2 separate regions of the Homo sapiens genome follow, and region 1 is linked to region 2. The links are contacts of gene promoters, found by promoter capture Hi-C in human tissues and cell types (Jung and others, 2019). All regions are on one chromosome and are shown on one strand. The core of a region is centred on a gene start or on the middle of the fragment in contact, and the rest is flanking DNA. Distances in the headings are between cores, read along the strand shown. Region 1 holds the start of MSS51 (MSS51 mitochondrial translational activator). Region 2 holds the start of SEC24C (SEC24 homolog C, COPII component).

Region 1 (5,358 bases), core at 2,844-5,343, 310 kb after region 2:
GCATATCCTATTTCCAGGCAGGCTCTCTTACTTGAACACAAATCCAAAAACTAATTTAGAGTCTTTTTTGCCCAGATCTTTTAAGACTTACACCCCAGAGATTTAAGAAGAAAACCTCTAAATTTCAAAATTATGAAGAATTACAGAATTACTCATTTAAGGTACTTTAAAAGAAGTTTGTACATTGTCAAAGTAAATTTTAATTCAAATCATGTCTGTAAAACTTGACGTATTTTGTGTATGCATGTTTTCATTTTGCAAATATTTAATATATAGACCTATGATGTACAGGTACGACATGTATAGGTTACCTAGATGTTATGAGAAATTTTAGTTTATTGTGAGTACTCAAGTTGCTTAGAGAGCCACCAGGGTGATTTGCTGCTGGCTTTCTATCATTTTTATGTTTTAATGCAAAGGAAATTTTAAAATGTTCTGGAAGTGTTTTTGATTAAGCAATGCAGCCTAGAAGCAATGGTTCTGTTCAATCATTCAGATGTTAGTGGAAGCATAAAAGTCAAGACTGCATGTTGAAACCTTTCTTTTGATAGTTACTGAACTGCTTGGTTAAACTAAATGGAACCATGTGCTAATTTTTCACAATTATTGACCTGTATTGATTGCCACTGTAGTTTGGTATTTCCCTTTACTTTGGTGGCCTGCTTCCCTCATGCCCTGGAATACAACTCAGAGCTCCAGGCAGCGGAACCATCTATTGTTTTGTTTGCCAGAAAGTGCACCCTGTATGGTCTCCTGTCTAAGTTGGAAATATTATGCATGTGCAGGACTATTCGAGTATTTTATAAACAGTAGCACACAATAAATTCCATGCATGGGCCGCTGCTCCTATCTCTGTGTTGGGTTTTATTTGGAAGATGCAATCTGATTTGTCCTTTTGATGCAAATCAGAAAATCCTGTTACTAGAGCTGGGATGTCCTCCGGAGATTATCTCGTGGATAGTTCATGGTAATTTGATTAATTAAATTCTTTATAAATTTTGCCTTAAAAAAAACTTTTGTTATATACTTGTTTTACATGAGCATTAGTAACTGAGCACTAGAGGACTTTGAATGCCTACTGTAGGCCTCCTAAGTCTAATATTTAAGATCACTGTTTATTGTCTTTTAATTGAAAGAAAATATGTTATTGTCTAGAATTTTGTTATAGTGGTATTGGGAATTTACTGGGTGTTCTAACAATAAGAAAAATATTAGTGATAATTGCATTTTCCTATCATTCCTTTCTTCTTTGTCATAATCACAATAAGTATAGGATTTTGCACATTGAGGGATATTAGGATATTGCTCAAAATTATATAATCATACAATAACTTGAATTATAGTTCTCAACAATAATTACAATGAGATATATTATAAAACACTAAGTCAAAATATAGGCAGGGCACAGTGGCTCATGCCTGTAATCCAAACACTTTGGGAGGCTGAGACAGAGGATTGCTTGAGCCTAGGAGCTCATGGTTGCAGGCTGTGTTGAGCTATGATTGTACCACTGTACTCCAGCCTGGGTGACAGAGTGAGACCCCATCCCTTAAAAACAAACAAAATATATGTAAATATATTAGGCAAGCGCACACACACACACACACACACACACACACACACACACACACACACATGCTTGCCTAATTCCAGGTAACAAACAGAACTTCTCAAATTGTTTCTTTTTTCTTTTTCTTTTGCTTTTTTTTTTTTTTTTTTGAGACGGAATCTCTGTCTGTCACCCAGGCTGGAATGCAGTGGCATGCTCTTGGCTCACTGCAACCTCCGCCTCCTGGGTTCAAGCAATTCTCCTGCCTCGGCCTCCCAAGTACCTGGGACTACAGGTGCCCACCACCACGCCTGGCTAATTTTTGTATTTTTAGTAGAGATGGGGTTTCACCATGTTGGCCAGGCTGGTCTCAAACTCCTGACCTCGTGATCCGCCCACCTCAGCCTCCCAAAGTGCTGGGATTTCAGGCGTCAGCCACTGCACCCGGCCACAAATTGTTAATTATTATAACTCTCTGCTTGCCAAAATATTAACTTACAAAGCAGTCCATGAGTTGGCTCTAAAGTTATTATGCATTGCATACCTTAAAGATTGTTGTCTATGTTGTTTATGAAAGTTGCATACCTTAAAGATTGTTGTCGATGTTGTTTTATGAAAGCTATTCAGTAAAGAGTTTATCTGGCTAAAATAGACCCAATAGAAAAATTAAAAAGTAAGTAAGAGTTTAACTAGTATATTAGGTGCCAGGAACTTTCCTAGCCCTTAGGTACATAACTAGCATTATATAGTGTTTGTGGGAATCATGGGTGAGCATTAAGTAGTATTAGCAAAAAAACTATGGATTGATGGTAAAAATTAAGAGGAAAATAAGAGAAAGGAACCAAACTCAGGAAAAGCAAAATACCTGAAGAGTGATAAAGTATCACATAGTGCCTCACAGACCACTTCCTACATGTTGAATAGGAACCTCTTTCTAGTCTTTCTTCATAATTCATTTCACAGCATACCATTTATTAAGATTTTTTAAATGCAACTCATGATGAATACAAATTGTGAAAAGTTCAGACTTCGTAACTTTAAATGTTTACCAGAGCAAGTCATAGTGATAGTAAAATATAAGTATTCAACATCAAAGTTTTTCTATATTACTATTCTCCTTTATATTCATTGACAACTTCTGAATTAGAAAAGTCAATCTCTGATGTCTTGTATCTTCTGCAGTTCAGCCATTATTAACAGAACTCAAAACATTTGAGGTTCTCAGATAAATTTTGAAGCCTGTTAAATTTGAAGTTGGCCTGAAACTTTTGCACAAAGTGAATTACCCCTATTTTATTTAGGGTTTTTGCCTATTGCAACTGATTTTCCTTTATCCACAGCTATTCTACATAATGTTATGCAGTGTTTGGTTGAATCCTTAACACTTTTCTTCCACCTTCCCTGCATGTAGTTTGTACTTTTTACAGTTTGGGGTTCCTGTGTGGATTTGATTTGCCACATTCCGGGACCTCATTGCGAGTGATTCTGTTCCCCAGTTTGATGATGTTCAAAGAAGCAGGTAAGTGAGAGCTGGGGTCAGATATAAGCAGAAAGTCAGAACTTTTTTATTTAAAAATTTTAAAAAAATTTTTTGAGGGTAAGAAAGATCTTGCAGTCTTTTAGGACCACTGCCCTAACAACTTCAGATAGGCTAGCTGTAAGTAGAAAGAAGCTAGGACTGTGGAATTGAATTTCCTGGATCAGCTGCAATTACAAGGAGGATAAGAGAATGGTTGAGCTGATTCTTTTCTATTTTCTTTTCCTAGAAATAGTATGTATTTTTAGTCATTAACTAGTATTTTGGTTTTGTTTAATATCCCAGAAGCATTTATTCCTCTCTTAATACAGGTAAAGTGCTCCTGATGACTCTCTCACTCAGAGAGTTATCTTACCCTTCTTTCAGGGAAAGTGAATTTTACAAGTTAATTCTGCATGTTTCCCCTACAACTGATTTCATTCTGTACCATTAAATGGCCATTTATTTTCTCCCTTCTACTTAATCCAAGATTGGACATTGTTGAGTTTTGTTTGAACAATGTTTGTTATGCTGAAAAAGGACACCAGGCCTGGGGGAACTCATCCTGTGTCTAGATCAACAAACAGAACTCCAGAGGGTCCTCTGGTTCCTCCCACTTGGTTGGAAAGGTGCTTACCCTTTCCAATCAAATATTGACTTCTGCACTAATCCAAAGGGTTTTCTTCTGAAGCTGTAAACTGAGAACAGAAATATTGCCTTGAGTGAGAGAAGTCTAGGAAGCAGCAGGTTTCATTTTTTGTCAGCCTGCCTGGCCTTTACTTGGCTAACACTTGGGAGTGTTGACAGTCCTGAGCCCCCTTGGCAGAGAACAAAGGTTAGAGAGAAGCCCTCAGGCAGGGGGACAGATCCCTCTTTGCCTCATTAGGGAGAATTCAGCCTTGTCTGTCTGGTTGGCAGGGCACACTTAATCACTGAGACTCAGCATTTCAGCAGTTTGCAAAGGAAAGTGATATGAAGGGACAGCTGCAAGTAAGCCACAACCTAGATCTGAAGAGATCAAGCACTCATTTCACTTGGAGGAAAGAGAGAAGGAAGGAAGCTGAGGACTTAGCAGGGTAAGTTTTTTTTTCCGTCAACCTGTCTGCTTGCTTAGTTTATAATTGAGTAAAGTATTTATCACCCCAGGCAGTGTTAATCACTGATTAAACAGCTGAATGTGGCCATAATTACAGTGTCCTTAATGTATTTCTCCTTCTCTTTTCCTACCCCCTTATAAGGATCTCCAATGACCAGTTTCAGTCTTCCTTCTCCCTACCTCTCCAAAGACGTTTTGCATTTTTTGGTGACTTACAGAAAATTAGATGAGCACTCCTTATCTGGAGATAGTGAAAATATGACTGTAGTTTAGGTGAAACTTGGGACTCTTGGTGGTAAAGAAGAAGATGGGAAACCTAGGTCTAGGAATAGATTAATATTTTGTCTTGAATTTGGACATGAAGGATAAAAGTTTTTCTAGGCAATCAAGATCATGTCTCCTCTCCAGTTCTTGGTGTTGGTGTTCTCTCTCTTATACTGGGACTAAATTAGAGCCTAAGTCACTGGGGATGGCTAGAAAAAAATGAAAGGGATTCCCTTTCTAAGTGGAGAGCATTCTAGACTCTGGAAAGTTCAAAGAGCTTACTGCAATTCTTTCCAGCTTCTCCTGTGAGTCCCCTGTTTTTTCCTTTGTTTCTCTCAGTTTATAACCTGTGAACAGGGAGTAGCCTGGGGCTCTTTACAGGAGATTTAGAACCAGGGAAGCTGTGTCTGGGCCTGGGGTATATAAACTCAAACATGAACCTGATGATGTATATAGATGCAGATCAAAGACCTGGCTTCTCACCCACCTTCTTTCTTTTCTGCCAGAAAGCTAACTCATTTGTATCATGAACATTGTGCTCTAGACACAGAGGAGACTGTGACATTAGGGATTTTTACCACCACTCCTCTTCCTCAAACTGTGTGATCCTTTTGCTTTCTGACCAGTTCAGCCAACTCCCAGATTGCCAAGAGCTAATCTTCCTTTAGAGGAAGACCTCACCTTGGAAATGCGGAAAAGTAAAGCAGTACCTTTCTGACCTTAAGTGGCTTGCTTCCATTGCAGCAAAAAGGCTTATGTTTTAACTTCAGGGAGATATCTATTATAAATTCTGGGATTTAAGACCCTAGAGTTGTCTCAAATCACACTTTCCTTCCATACCTATTTAAAAAAAAAAAAGTCATTCTTTCAAGGTTTAAGAAAGTGGTGTCTTGGCCGGGCGCCGTGGCTCATGCCTGTAATCCCAGCACTTTG
Region 2 (5,769 bases), core at 1,059-3,558:
TCCACAGGATCTTAGTAATTTTCTGCCCCAGCCAGCATTCAGATTATCTCCTAAAAGCAAGGATTTTGTTATTCTGACCATCCACCCTTTGTCACTGTCTAAATAGTATAAATTTCAACTTCAGACAGATCCACTGAAATGGAGCAGCAGCCTCCATTCCCCAGTGGTATGATTTCTAGTGTCTAGTCACACAGTCTTGTGGCTGATGAACTACCTTGATGTTACAGGTGAAAGAAACAATGTTCCCACTTTCCATTCATTCACTCTAGCATCCATTCATTCAGCAAACATCGAGTACCCTCTAGTGTGCTGAACAATTGATTTAAAATCAATCAGGCTAAAAATCTAAAACAGATCTGCTAAAATCCTTCCCCCTCAATGACAAAATTTAGGCTGAGTTACAGAAATGACATTCTTTAGCTAAACTGCCATAATACAAATGATACTCCAACCCAAGTCTTTCCACCAAAAGAGTGTATGGACCTTAAAACTGAAGGTTTTTTTTTTTTTTTTTTTTTTTTGAGACGGAGTCTCACTCTGTTGCCAGGCTGGAGTGCAGTGGCGCGATCTCGGCTCACTGCAACCTTCACCTCCTGGGTTCAAACGATTCTCCTGCCTCAGCCTCCCGAGTAGCTGGGATTACAGGCGCGTGCCACCACACCCAGCTAGTTTTTGTATTTTTAGTAGAGACAGGTTTTCACCCTGTTAGCCAGGCTGGTCTCGATCTCCTGACCTCGTGATCCACCCACCTTGGCCTCCCAAAGTGCTGGGATCACAGGTGTGAGCCACCACGCCCGGCCAAAACCGAAGCATTAAAATCAATAAAAGTTGGCCAGGCACAGTGGCTCATGCCTGTAATCCCAGCACTTTGGAAGGCCAAGTCGGGCAGATCACTTGAGGTCAGGAGTTCATGACCAGCCTGGCCAACACGGTGAAACCCAGTCTCTACTAAAAATACAAAAACTAGCCGGGCATGGTGGCACACGCCTGTAATCCCAGCTACTTGGGAGGCTGAGGCAGGAGAAATCGCTTGAACCCGGGAGGCGGAGATTGCAATAAGCCGAGATCGTGCCACTGCACTCCAGCCTGAGCAATAGAGCAAGACGCCCTTTCAAAAAAATAAAAAATAAAGGACACCTGAAAACTCTAGCAAGGTAACAGATTAAAACCAAGTGCAGAACAGGCACCAAAACTTCTTCACATAATCTGAGGAAACAGTTCAAGAATCAGGGGCAAAGTTAGAGTTAGATTTCATGGAAAAAAATCATTCACCTCATCCCTCAAGCAGAAGACTATGAATATTCTAAATTCCAATGCACTTCTCCAACTCTCCTGTTTCTGCTCCCCTTACGATTGTTATGAATCTCAGCCACCATCAAAATTATTACAATCTTGCTCATCAACACAGGGATGAATTAGAGGGCCTTTTCTAAACAGGGTCCTTCCAAGAAAACTATCTCATCACATCTACTTTCAACAGCTGTATCATTCCAATTATCCTGTAGACAGAAGGGGCCCAGAAAGCAGGAGCACTCAGAGTTGCTGCAAAGGGAACAATGGACCTCTCCCCCTTTGCTAGAAGGGCCACCTTGACTATAGAAAAGGAGCTGATCCTGGTCTAAAACTCTTTAAACTCAAAGTTATCTCAATAGCTGTTCTTCCAAACCCTAAACCTTACAGAGGTAGGTCACTGACACTAAGTTTAAAATATGTCCTCTCCCTTTATGTTTCCAAAGCCGGGGGGAGGGGTAAAGAAAGGAGCTTCTTCTCCAGAAAATAATCCCCTCAAACACATTCAAGAGCTTGGAGTCAGACTGAAGTCTCGACTCCATTCTGGGTGGATAGTCGAGGGTGACAACCCAAGGGGGCGGGGCAAGCTTCCTAGAACTCTGAAAGTAGTCAAGCCATGGAGCCTCGGAGAGCCGAGGATCAAAACCGAGAAGCCAAGTCGGCTTCTAGGGCCACGTTAAGAGAGGGGGCTGCTCTGTTAAGCACAGAGACCAAACGTCTTGCACCTTTTAACAGGCTCGGGGCAGGAAGCAGGAGCCGGAATCTGGGCCGGGAGACGAAGGGATGGTCTAGGACCTGCTCCTGGATGGTGGATGCGTGAGGTGAGGGTCTCTACCCAGGCCCCGCCCCCAGGCTCCTCCCTTCTTTCTGAAACCGGACCCCAATCTGGCCAGTAATACCCTGACCTCTCCTTTGCTTTCCTACCCGCCAACCTCCCGATGCCACTCCTCACCCGGCTCCAGATCCAGGTTAGACTTCGTTCCTAACGTCAAGGCTCCCAGGCTCCACTTCCGGTTCCGAGGGGGCCGTCCCGTCACCCCCGGAAGTTCCTCCTCCACGCTTTAGGGCCGGGCCACTTCTTCTGCCACGTCTGCATTTCGGGGACCCGGATGCCGCGCATGCGCCTCTTTCATCTTCCCATCATGGCCGCCGCCTGTGCGCCTCTGCTGAGTCGTATGTATTTCCCTCCTGACATTTTTTTTCAGATGTTCCAGTCACTTTATGGCCTCACCAACAGAAATGAGATTAAAAAGAATTTGTCAAACTATCTTTAATAATGCCCCTTCACTCTGCCTGTGACGTATTAGTGACCTCTGAGCTAGAGTCTTGTAGTCACTTCCTGGTGACCCCTGACCCCGTTGATTTCCGTCCGCTAGGTTGCTCTCACCCATGGCGTTTGCTGGTTATGAGATTTGCGGAACGTGTGGTGGTGGTAAAGGGCACCAACTGTTGTCAACCTGCATGTGGGGGTCTGAGGTCTGGCTCTACAGCTTGTAAAATGGAAATAATAATGCCCAGAGGATGAAATTAGGCCACATAGGCCGCTTGGCATCATAGTAAGCACTCAGTAAAGGTCAATTGTTATTAACCATTTTTATACAGCGCCTTTGTTTAGGTGCAGAGCTTTATCAGAGCCAAAAGATCTCTGCGCTCTGTTGGAAAAGATAGTTCCTGCAGTAATTATTAGTACCCCATTTAATGGCTAAGTAATTATAGCTAACAGTGCTAGGATTTCTTTTTCATATATGACTTCATTTGAACTTTTCAGTACTATTTGTTGATTTCATAATTTTTCGAGCACTGCTGTTGAAACTGCCTTTGCAAAATTACAACTGAGGAAATTATGATAGTGGAAGAAATCAGACTTAACCGACTCCATCTTGCTTCTAACCTTTAAGCTGTCCTTATTCATTCCTGGGTGTAGGTGGAACTAACTTTGGGGAGGAATTCAGTTTATGGTTTGAAACAAAATTGATAATAGCCCCTTCCCGAAAAGACCCCCTTCTTGCCTGGGGACCAGTCTGTCTTTACAGGACTAACAAATTAGCTACAAGATTACAAATTACAGTTTAGGGGACATGCAGCCTCTCGCTCCAAGAGTCTGAACCTCCCCAAATTGCTTTTAGGAATAACATAACTATTGTAAAACCTAAGATTAGTGCTTGAGATGTTTTGCAGACCCTGCACTCATTGGATCAGCTGACTACCTAGACCAGTAACCTGGCTCAATCAGTTCTGCCATTCCACCCAGGAACAGAAAACAGCAAGAAAACCTCACTTTGACTCCCTGTGATTCCGTCTTCAACCTGACCAATCAGCACTCCCCGCTTCCCAAGCTCCTACTCGCCAAATTATCTTTAAGAACTCTGATCCTCAAATGCTCAGGGAGACTAATTTGTGTAATAATAAAACTCTGGTCTCCCACACAGCTGGCTCTGCGTGAATTACTCTTTCTCCATTGCAATTCCCTGGTCTTGATAAATCAGCTTTGTCAAGGCAGCAGGCAGGGTGAACCCACTGAGCGCTGACATTGTGTGCCAAGCCATGTTCTTGGGTCTGGAAATAGAGCAGTGAACAAAAGTGTTTGTTCTCATATTATTGACAGTAAATATCAGTTATTCTGAGGCACAGAGTGGTTTATTCACTGAAAAATTTGCACTTTAGGCTGTGCTGGAAACTATATATTAGGCATTGAGCATGCTTTACTAAACAAGCAGATTGTTCTTGTCCTCTGTTTTGTTTTGTGACAGTCTTGCTCTGTCTCCAGGCCGGAGTGCAGTGGCCCAATCTTGGCTCACTGCAACTTCCGCCTCCTGGTTTCAAGCGATTCTTATGCCTCAGACTCCCGAGTAGCTGGGATTACAGGCATGCGCCACCACCCCAGCTAATCTTTGTATGTTTGGTATAGACAGGGTTTCACTATATTGGCCAGGATGGTCTTGATCTCCTGACGTTGTGATCCGCCCCCCTTGGCCTCCCAAAGTGCTGGGATTACAGGTGTGAGCCACTGCGCCCAGCCTGTTTTGTTTTAGAGACGATTTTGCTATGTTGCTCAGGCTGGGCTCAAGTGGTCCTCCTACCTCAGTAGGAGTAGCTGGGTAGTTGAGTAGCTAGGGCTACAGGTATGTGCCCCCACATCTGGCTAATTTTTTGTAGAGGTGAGGTCTCCCTGTGTTGCCCAGGGTGGTCTCAAATTCCTCCCACCTTAGCCTTCCAAATTGCTGAGATTACAGGTGTGAAGCCACCACACCTGACCTATCAGTTTATAGTCAGTGGTTAAGTGTGATCCTCAGATCAGCAGTATCAGTAACACCTGGAAACTTGCTTGAAATGCAAATTTCAGACCCGCTTTACATAGATAAGAGCCAGAAATTCTGGAGGTGGGGCCCAGCAAGCTATGGTTTAAGGCCCTCCAGGTGATTCCATTGCTGATTGAGAACCACTAGTCTAGATGAATAATTTGCCAAATTCAACTAAGATATGTTGAGCACCTGACCTAAACTGGTCCTCTGCTAAGCATTTTCACATGATTCATCCCACTTGACTCATATCGATATAGGAAAGTAAATATCCTCTGTCTTGCTTAAGGTTGCACCCACTAGGGCCGGGCATGGTGGCTCATGCCTGTAATCCTAGCACTTTGGGAGGCCGAGACAGGCGGATCACCTGAAGTCAGGAGTTTGAGAGCAGCCTGGCCAACCCTGTCTCTGCTAAAAATACAAAAATTAGCTGGATGTCGTGGCACATGCCTGTAATCCCAACTACTCAGGAGGCTGAGGAAGGAGAATCGCTTGAACCCAGGGGACGGAGGTTGCAGTGAACCAAGATTGCACCACTGCACTCCAGCCTGGGACACAGGGCAACACTCCATCTTAAAAAAAAGGTTGCACCCCTGATAAGTGGTAGATCCTAGATTCAGTTTCTTTCTTCCCCCTCCCCCCACCTTTTTTTTTTTCTATTTGAGACAAGGTCTCTGTCACCCAGGCTGGAGTGCAGTAGCATGATCTTGGCTCACTTCACCCTCTGCCTCCCAGGCTCAAGTGATCCTCCCCACTCAGCCTCCCTAGTAGCTGGGACTACAGGCATGTGCCACCACTCTTAGCTAACTAAGTTTTGTATTTTTGTAGAGATGGGGTTTCACCATGTTACCCAGGCTGGTCTCAAACTCCTGGGCTCAAGCAATCTGCCCGCCTTGGCCTTCCAAAGTGCTGGGATTACAGGCATAAGCCACCATGCCCGGACCATAGTTCATAGTTTCTTTCTTTTTTTTGTTTTTTGAGAGTCTCACTCTCAAAAGGGGTATGGGGCGGCTCCAGGGCCAGGGATGGGACGGCCACAGTTGCGGCAGCTCCAGGACGAGCAAGTGGATCCCGGGAAGCGCTGTGAGCTCCCGAGCCAGCCGGGAGGACGCTTACTACAGCTGCTCAGAAGCACTGCTGGAAGCTCAGATGTGGGCGCCCCAGCCAGAAACCTAGAGGG

The links. Contacts are between HindIII fragments. The study calls those that stand out against the background at their distance.
Region 1: the fragment with the promoter of MSS51 here is called in contact with the fragment with the promoter of SEC24C in region 2 in 1 of the 25 tissues and cell types used here (thymus).

The regions. Positions count from the first base shown.
Region 1 is chr10:73,432,296-73,437,653 of GRCh38, reverse strand. MSS51 (MSS51 mitochondrial translational activator) reads left to right here and starts at 4,093. Exons shown (of 7, transcript NM_001024593.2): 1 at 4,093-4,141. PPP3CB (protein phosphatase 3 catalytic subunit beta) reads left to right here. Exons shown (of 14, transcript NM_021132.4): 14 at 1-1,221. The HindIII fragment of the contact is 24,221 bases long and covers 1-5,358 here.
Region 2 is chr10:73,740,911-73,746,679 of GRCh38, reverse strand. It overlaps SEC24C (SEC24 homolog C, COPII component), which reads right to left and starts at 2,308. Exons shown (of 23, transcript NM_198597.3): 1 at 2,243-2,308. It overlaps LOC124902453 (a long non-coding RNA gene), which reads left to right and starts at 2,415. Exons shown (of 2, transcript XR_007062195.1): 1 at 2,415-2,463; 2 at 3,469-3,716. RefSeq lists enhancers at 1,793-2,359, 2,260-2,689, 2,360-2,927, 1,767-2,966, 4,632-5,199 and 1 more. The HindIII fragment of the contact is 12,749 bases long and covers 1-5,769 here.